Linked DNA regions of Homo sapiens: region 2 is linked to region 1. Evidence: promoter capture Hi-C in human tissues and cell types (Jung and others, 2019). All regions are on one chromosome and are shown on one strand. Each heading gives the region's core, a stretch centred on a gene start or on the middle of the fragment in contact. The rest is flanking DNA. Distances are from core to core; before and after follow the strand shown. Region 1 holds the start of ZNF282 (zinc finger protein 282). Region 2 overlaps CUL1 (cullin 1).

Evidence for each region. The method cuts DNA at HindIII sites, captures the fragments that hold promoters and counts their contacts. A contact is called where the count stands out against the background at its distance.
Region 2: a fragment that was not itself captured here is called in contact with the fragment with the promoter of ZNF282 in region 1 in 1 of the 25 tissues and cell types used here (aorta).

The regions. Positions count from the first base shown.
Region 1 is chr7:149,192,047-149,196,896 of GRCh38, reverse strand. ZNF282 (zinc finger protein 282) reads right to left here and starts at 1,351. Exons shown (of 8, transcript NM_003575.4): 1 at 1,143-1,351. The coding sequence starts at 1,307. RefSeq lists an enhancer at 284-333 and silencers at 774-1,133, 1,254-1,575, 1,394-1,683. The HindIII fragment of the contact is 19,438 bases long and covers 1-4,850 here.
Region 2 is chr7:148,700,071-148,702,770 of GRCh38, reverse strand. All of the region lies in intron 1 of CUL1 (cullin 1), which reads right to left. Among named protein-coding and RNA genes, the nearest start is that of CUL1, 2.5 kb to the right of the region's middle. The HindIII fragment of the contact is 3,491 bases long and covers 1-2,700 here.

The DNA.
Region 1 (4,850 bases), core at 102-2,601:
CAAGAGCAGCCCTGCTCCGGGGCAGACCTGCTCCGGGACACAGCAGAGTGGAGAGCAGGGCCCTAGGATCGCCAGGCCCTGTAATACCAGTAAGAGGTGCTGGTGTTTCCATCAAAAGCACCCATTCCTCCATCACAGAGGCTCCACTCCGCCCTAGCCCACAGAAGGGGACAGAGTCCACAGTAGAAGTTAAGAAAGTCCCGGGGCCCAGTTTAGTTTTCTCGGGTTTGAAGCCCTAACCCTGAAAATGATCAAACACAACACAGCAGCCCCTGGCTCCCTCGTTAGCACCTGGCTGAGAGCCGCGTGGTGAGCAGAGGGGCCCCTGAGCAGCCCAGCCCCAGGGTGGGCCCAGAGAGTCTTCCCTGGGCAAGCTTTCAGGCCTCTCTGAGGATCCACCTCCCCTGGTTTTATACCCAATTCTGGAGCACCGGTTCTGCCCACGGAGATCATCGATGGAGCCTGAAGAAATGCCTGGTGCTACTCTCACCCGTCAGAGACCCTGAGCTCTGGGACCAGGCAAGGGCTCAGGAGTCTTAAAAGCTGCCCAGGCCATTCCAACATGCGGCCAAGTTTGTCAACCGCAGGAAAGACCCCGAAGTCATCTCTCCATGGCCCCCTCCCTGGATCACACCCGGTGCAGGGGGAGAGTGAATTACTCATTACACTTGGTGAAAGGTGGTAATCAAACATTTAAAAAATATCCCCGTCAAATTGGCCACCGTGTAAACACGAACGAGGCATTCACTTCTGCGGCCGGGCGGAAGCACTGCCCGCGAAGCTCTCCGCCGGCCGGGCGCAAAGGGAGCCCCAAGCCGGGGCTCAGCCACAGGGTCAGAGCTCTGCCAGGTCCCGGAAAGGACGGTCCCGGCCCCCGCCCCGCGGGGCCTCCGCACTTGGGCCCGGCGACCGCTGCTCCGCGCCGCGCGGGCCAGGCCTGCCCTTCCGGGCCTGCGTCGGGCCCGCTCCGTCCTGCCCGCCGCGCAGCCCGGCCGTGCCCCGCCCGCCTCGGGCCTCGCCTGGGCGCGGAAGCTGGGAGGGCGCCGCAAGGCTACCGGAGGACGGCGCGGCCCGGTCCCGCGGCCCAGCCCGCGCCCCGCCCCCACGGCAGCGCGGCCATGGCGCCGGCGGGGTTCTCCCACCTGCATGGGCGGCATTCCCTCGGCCATTTCCCCGCGCAGCGCCGGCTCCTGGTGGCAGACCTCCTCCGGGGGCAGAGCCTGGGCCCAGCTCCAGCTCCCGCTGTCCAGCCCCAGGCCCTGGATGCCCAGCTGCTGAGGCTGCGGCCGTGTTGACACAAACTGCATCCTGGGAGTGCTGTTCCCCGCTCGGGTCGGCCAGGGAGAAGAAGAACGTTTTCCAGGCGCCTTCCCCCTCTCCGGGGCCGGACAGCTCCATCTACAGCCCGTAGGAGCAAACAGTCCCCTTCGGCGGCGCTCCCCGCCCCTTGGCAGCCCGCGCGCCAGCCAATGGCCTCGGAGCTCCTGCCCGCCTGCGGGGACCTACCGGGGCCACTCCCGGACTGGGGTCGCCACCGCCCCAAAACTGAGAGGCGGCGGCCTCGCCCAGGGGTCAGGCCCCCTCAATCTGGGATGGCCGACTTTAAAGGCCCAAACTATGCGAGGACCTGGACTGTGGGCTTGATTACTGTTAATTCTGCAAATGTATTGGGCATCCCGGGAGAAAATAGTGCCTGACCCTTGTGAAAATTTTGCAGGAGTAATTCTGTCTTCAGACACTTTCTTCTGGCCTTCTGCCTTCCCTCACTCCTTTGCAGACTTTACCTCCCACTCCCCTTCTTCCCAATCCAGATTTACCTGGACCCATCCCAGAGCTTTTGCACTGTTATGGATGATAGAGAAGTGATTCATGTTAAGGTGTCAAAAGAGGGCTGAGCTCTTTCTCCCAGGTAAGGTGCAGTGCATTTTAACAGTGGCCTCTTCAAACACCTTGAAATTGGGTTGGGCGTGGTGCCTCACACCTGTAATCTCAGCACTCTGAGAGGCTGAAGCAGGAGAACGACTTGAGCCCAGGAGTTCGAGACCAGACTGAGCAACATATTGACACCCCATCCCTATAAAAAATAAAAATTAGCCGAGCGCGGTGGCTCACATCTGTAATCCCAGCACATTGGGAGGCTGAGGCAGGCGGATCACCTGAGGTCAGGAGTTCGAGACCAGCCTGGCCAACATGGTGAAACCCCGTCTCTACTAAAAATACAAAAAGATTAGCCGGGCGTGGTGGCGTGGGCCTATAATCCTAGCTACTCGGGAGGCTGAGGCAGGAGAATCGCTTCAACCTCCGAAGCGGAGGTTGCAGTGAGCCAAGATCGCGCCAGTGCGCTCCAGCCTGGGCAACAGAGCGAGACTCCATCTCAAAAAATAATAATAAGGCCGGGCGCCGTGGCTCACGCCTGTAATCCCAGCACTTTGGGAGGCCAAGACGGGCGGATCACGAGGTCAGGAGATCGAGACCATCCTGGCTAACACGGTGAAACCCCGTCTCTACTAAAAATACAAAAAAATTAGCCGGGTGTGGTGGCGGCGCCTGTAGTCCCAGCTACTCGGGAGGCTGAGGCAGGAGAATGGCGTGAACCCGGGAGGCGGAGCTTGCAGTGAGCCGAGATCGCGCCACTGCACTCTAGCCTGGGCAACAGAGCAAGACTCCGTCTCAAAAAAAAATAATAATAATAATAATAAAATAAAAAATAAAAATTACCCGGGCATGATGGCTAATGCCTGTACTCCTAGTTACTCAGGAGGCTAAGGCTGTAGGATTGCTTGAACTCAGGAGTTGGAGGTTGCAGTGAGCTGTGATTGTGCCGTTGTGCTCCAGCTTGGGCGGCATAGCAAAGATCCTGTGTCAAATAAATAAATAAATAAACCTTTAAATCGGGCAGTCATGGTGGCTCACACCTGTAATCCCAACACTTTGGAGGCCAAGGCTGAGGCCAGGAGTTCAAGACCAGCCTGGGTGACACAGCGAGATCCCTTCTCTACAAATAAAACCCTTTAAAGGCAGGTCAGTGTCACTTTGAAACATCAGGCCAGGTCAGAGGAGGAGCCAGGGAGAGGCCAGTATAAGCTGATGAAGATGGAGGAGGGGAAAATTCAGTCATTCCAAATGTATTTATTGAACACCTACTGTGTGCCAGGTACTGTTTAGGAAGAGGGTGAGCTTTGCAGTTGCATACACCTGAGTTTAAATCCCAAAATCACCACTCACTAGCTATGACTTTGAGCAACTTATTTAACTTCTCTGAGCCTCATTCTCTTCATATATAAATGAAGAAAATAATGGCAACTCTATTTTAATGTTGTAAAATTAAATGAGAATTGTGCCTGGCACATAGCGAGCATTCTGCAAAGATAGTTACCCCCAAAAGGTGTTTTTGTAATTATTCTCAAAATAGTATTTACTTTGTTTTCCTAAAGGACCAGTCCCTGTCTTGTTAAGGAAGAGATCTCTGAGGCTCATCACCTTGTGTGGAAGCAGACCTGCTAGTACCTTTAAGTTCCACTGCACTTCATAAAATAAAGGACATTATTGGCCTACGTGAGACATGTGCTTAGAAGGCCATATTCAGAAGAACAGTTACCAAGTACTTTCTCTGCTAGGCACACTTCTAGGATACAGAAATGAGTATTCACAGACTTAAGATTATCCTCAAGGAGCTTATAGGCCAGTAAAGTCCATGCTCCCAGAAGTCAGTGATTTCCTTCCCTGCTTCCTGGCCCTGATTGTAAACATCACGTCCACTTTTATTAGAGGAACCAGGCAAGTTAAGTCTGAAAAGCTCTAGGCAAATTCATTTCCACCAGCGAGCCACATTTCAGAACACGTCTTCTGCACTGTAGATTATCAACTATCTTTTCTCTTTCCTAGAGGTGATAAAGGAAGGACTAGGTTAGTCCCAAACATTTATGCTATCTTTTCTGTATAAAGCCTTTAAAATGACTTCCCTTCCTAAGCACTTAACTAGTTATAACGATGTCCTTTGTTACATAGTAAGACATCGCTGTAGTGTGTCTACTTCACATTTCTCCTTCACAGCGGGTGGATTTTCATGCAGCCATCAACACTATCACCCTTTGTGACCAGAGTAGTTGCTCAGAGCTAGAGGTCCCATTCATTGTTAAGATGATCCCAGTACTTTGGGAAGCCGAGGCGGGCAAATCATGAGGTCAAGAGTTTGAGACCAGCCTGGCCAATATGGTGAAACCCCATCTCTACTAAAAATACAAAACTTAGCCAGGCATGGTGGTGTGCGCCTGTAGTCCCAGCTACTCTGGAGGCTGAGGCAGAAGAGTCGCTTGAGCCCAGGAGGTGGAAGTTGCAGTGAACCGAGATCCTTCCACTGTACTCCAGCCTGGCGACAGAGCAAGACTCGGTCTCAAAAAAAAAAAAAAAGAGATATATGAGCAAAGCTACTCAACTCAAACAATTTAAATGCACAGGCTTCATTGTACTTGCAATATTTTATTTTATTTATTTTTGAGACAGAGTCTCACTCTGTCACCCAGGATGGAATGCAGTGGCTCAATCTCGGCTCACTGCAACCTCCGTCTCCCAAGTTCAAACAATTCTCCTGCCTCAGCCTCCCGAGTAGCTGGGATTACAGGCGCTTGCCACCATGCCCAGCTAATTTTTGTATTTTTAGTAGAGGTGGGGTTTCACCATGTTGGCCAGGCTGGTCTCAAACTCTTGACCTCACATGATCCACCCGCCTTGGCCTCCCCAAGTGCTGGGATTACAAGCATGAGCCACCGCACCTGGCCACTAACATTATTTTATAACCACCAAGCCTAGCAACCACAGGCCATAAAAGGCCGTAGTGGATACCAGCAGGA
Region 2 (2,700 bases), core at 150-2,649, 490 kb after region 1:
TGGGAACCCAGAGAAGGCTCCTAACCCAGACCAGGACATCAGGGCCAGCTTTCCAGAGATGGTGATGTGTGAGCCGTCAGGTGATAGAAAAGGCAAAGAGTCAGATCCAGAATGGAACTGCAATAGCGCTGAAGCATGGAGTCAACACTAGGAAAGGCAGACCAGTGCTTACTTGGTCCAAGTTTCCCAAGGGAAAAAATTTAACTATCAAACTTAGGCTTCACAACCCTGCTTTTTAAACATGAATACAATACTTAATGTTCTTTAAGACCGTTTTTCCAAAATCCTGTTAATGTTAAAAGCTGTGGCATTCCCATGGAATCCACATACTTTCGGGGCCTAAGGAAATCAACAGTGTCAATTAAAAACCATCTCATTTTAAAAACGAGGAAATATATGCCCTGCAAAGGTAAGCTTGAACTAGACTCCATGTCTTCTCTCCCAAGCAAGATGTTCTATACCTAAGCAAAAATAAATGACTTCAATCTCTCTCCCTCACGGAATTTTTAGAAATGAAACACCTCCATGAGTGAATAAAAAACTTAAGTCATTAAATGTTATAATAATTCTGTTTATAGTGTGTTTACTAAATCTTCATATTATAAACAGGAAACCTCCTATAAACAGGAAATTATGTCCTCAGTAGTAAACATAAGGCTTTTATCCAAATAGGATCTATTTTTCATTTAATGCTCATTTCTTCATTTGGAAGCAAAACAAACACACTGATAAACTACCAAATGTTTTTAAAAAGCAAGGCAACCTTAGAATTGGCCCTTAAAATGGTTAACACTCTTTTCTCCAGACATACCTAAAAGACAAGTTCAAAATGAAGCTGACAGTCCCCCAAAGACATTTTATTCCAGAATGACTCAAGGTCACTGGCTTTAGGACCTACGGAAGGCTGAAACAGCAAAACAAACAAAAAACCAAGTTCCTAAGTTTTTAAGGCCCTAATATTTTTAATTTGAAGAATGGCAAGTAACAACTCCTCAATTTAAAGTACATTCATTTTAATTTTCCATGCTGAAAGACAGACACCACTGGGTATACTGGGAATGACATTCTGATGAATGGCCCTCAGAGACCAAGGGATGGTTCCTCCTACAGCAACTTCCTATCCCACTCCAGCAGAACCATGGGGCTTGCCTCATCTACAAGGAGGAGCCTTAACTACCAAACTGCTTCATTGCAAAGGCAAGGCTGGATACTCAACCTGGGGGGAAAAACCTGATCGTGTTTCCAAAAAAACACCAAACACAAAAAGTAAAAACATCCACACCTTAAAACTAGTTTTAAGGGGGAAAAAAGTTAAAGTTTCACAACCTGTTTTCTTGGCACTTTCCCAGACTTCCATAGGTATAGAAAACCTGGGCATTTTTCTGTTAGGGCCCTGTACTAGATACTGGGGTGTTTCAGGGAGAAGGGAAGTGAAGAGGGAAGGGGGAATAGAAAAGGAGGGATGAGAGAGACGATCAATTTTACTCGAGAAGTGTATAATAAAGCTTGAATTCTTAACCGGCTTAAGCACAACGACTGTGTTTTCTGTAGCCAAAAATCAGCGCATGTTTTCAAACGTTAAGTTTAAGTTAGAATTATTCCAGAAAACTCATTCATTAAAAAAAAGCAACTGAGGCACCACCACAACCAAGTTCTGTTACTCTGGGGACGCAAAAACAAATAAGGAATATCTCCTGCGCTGGAGGAATTCACAATCGGAAATGTATGGGAAATAAGGCTGTCATGTAGTTAATTACAGCTAGAAGATAATATTCAGTAAGTGGCAAGAGTCTAATGAACTGTAATATCTAAGGAAACCATGCAGAATCAGCTCAGGCATGCGTGTCTGTCTTCTGATGTGGTACACACATTAGGAGTGGGGGGTGGGGCTGGCTATAAGGACCTGAGCATGTGGCTCTCAGGGAGGGAGGCTTTTATAAATTGGTGAAAAACCCTAGCATATCTAAATTTGGTTTGTTTTTTGACAAAATCGTTTTTAAAAGATGAAGCCAATGAGAAAAAAAGTTTAACATATTTAGAAAGCAATTCAGCCATCCCTCTCAAGCTTAAGGAACACTCTCCTGAAACCTCCAAAAATGGGCATTAATAGAGTTAAAGCGAGCCAGTCTTGTGTTTGCATGCTTTGGAATTTGAAATGTAACGCAACTATTTCGACTCACCATGGAAAACAACAAATAGAACCTTCAAGTAAAACATTTTTCAATATCCAAAAACAAACCTTCTTTAAACAAAGAAAAATCTCATCTCCAAATATCTTTTTCAAACAGAATGACTGGTTTTACATTTTAAACATCATTACATATTTTACTACGTAATACACTCTCCAGGATTTCAGAAAATCGGGTACATTTTCGGGTGCACCATGAAATGAAGTGTTAAACTTAAAACTGCACACACTTCTGCGAGGCGTTAAGCTATGCTTAGGTCCTAGAAGCTCATGGCTTGAAGTAAAAAAGGAATCTAGTTCCTCTTCTGCCGCTTCGTTAAGTGCATTCCAAAAAGTGTGATCGTTTACTCCACTCAGAACTTTTGACGATTTTAATGCTACTACAGGAAAGAGCAATTACACAGAGCAAACAAATATTTAAGTAGACTGCAATTCAGTATTTGCGCACTTACCACTAACCCCTACTACGAACCAGAAGCAACCAAGAGTGACCCAATCGGAAAAGAGAATCC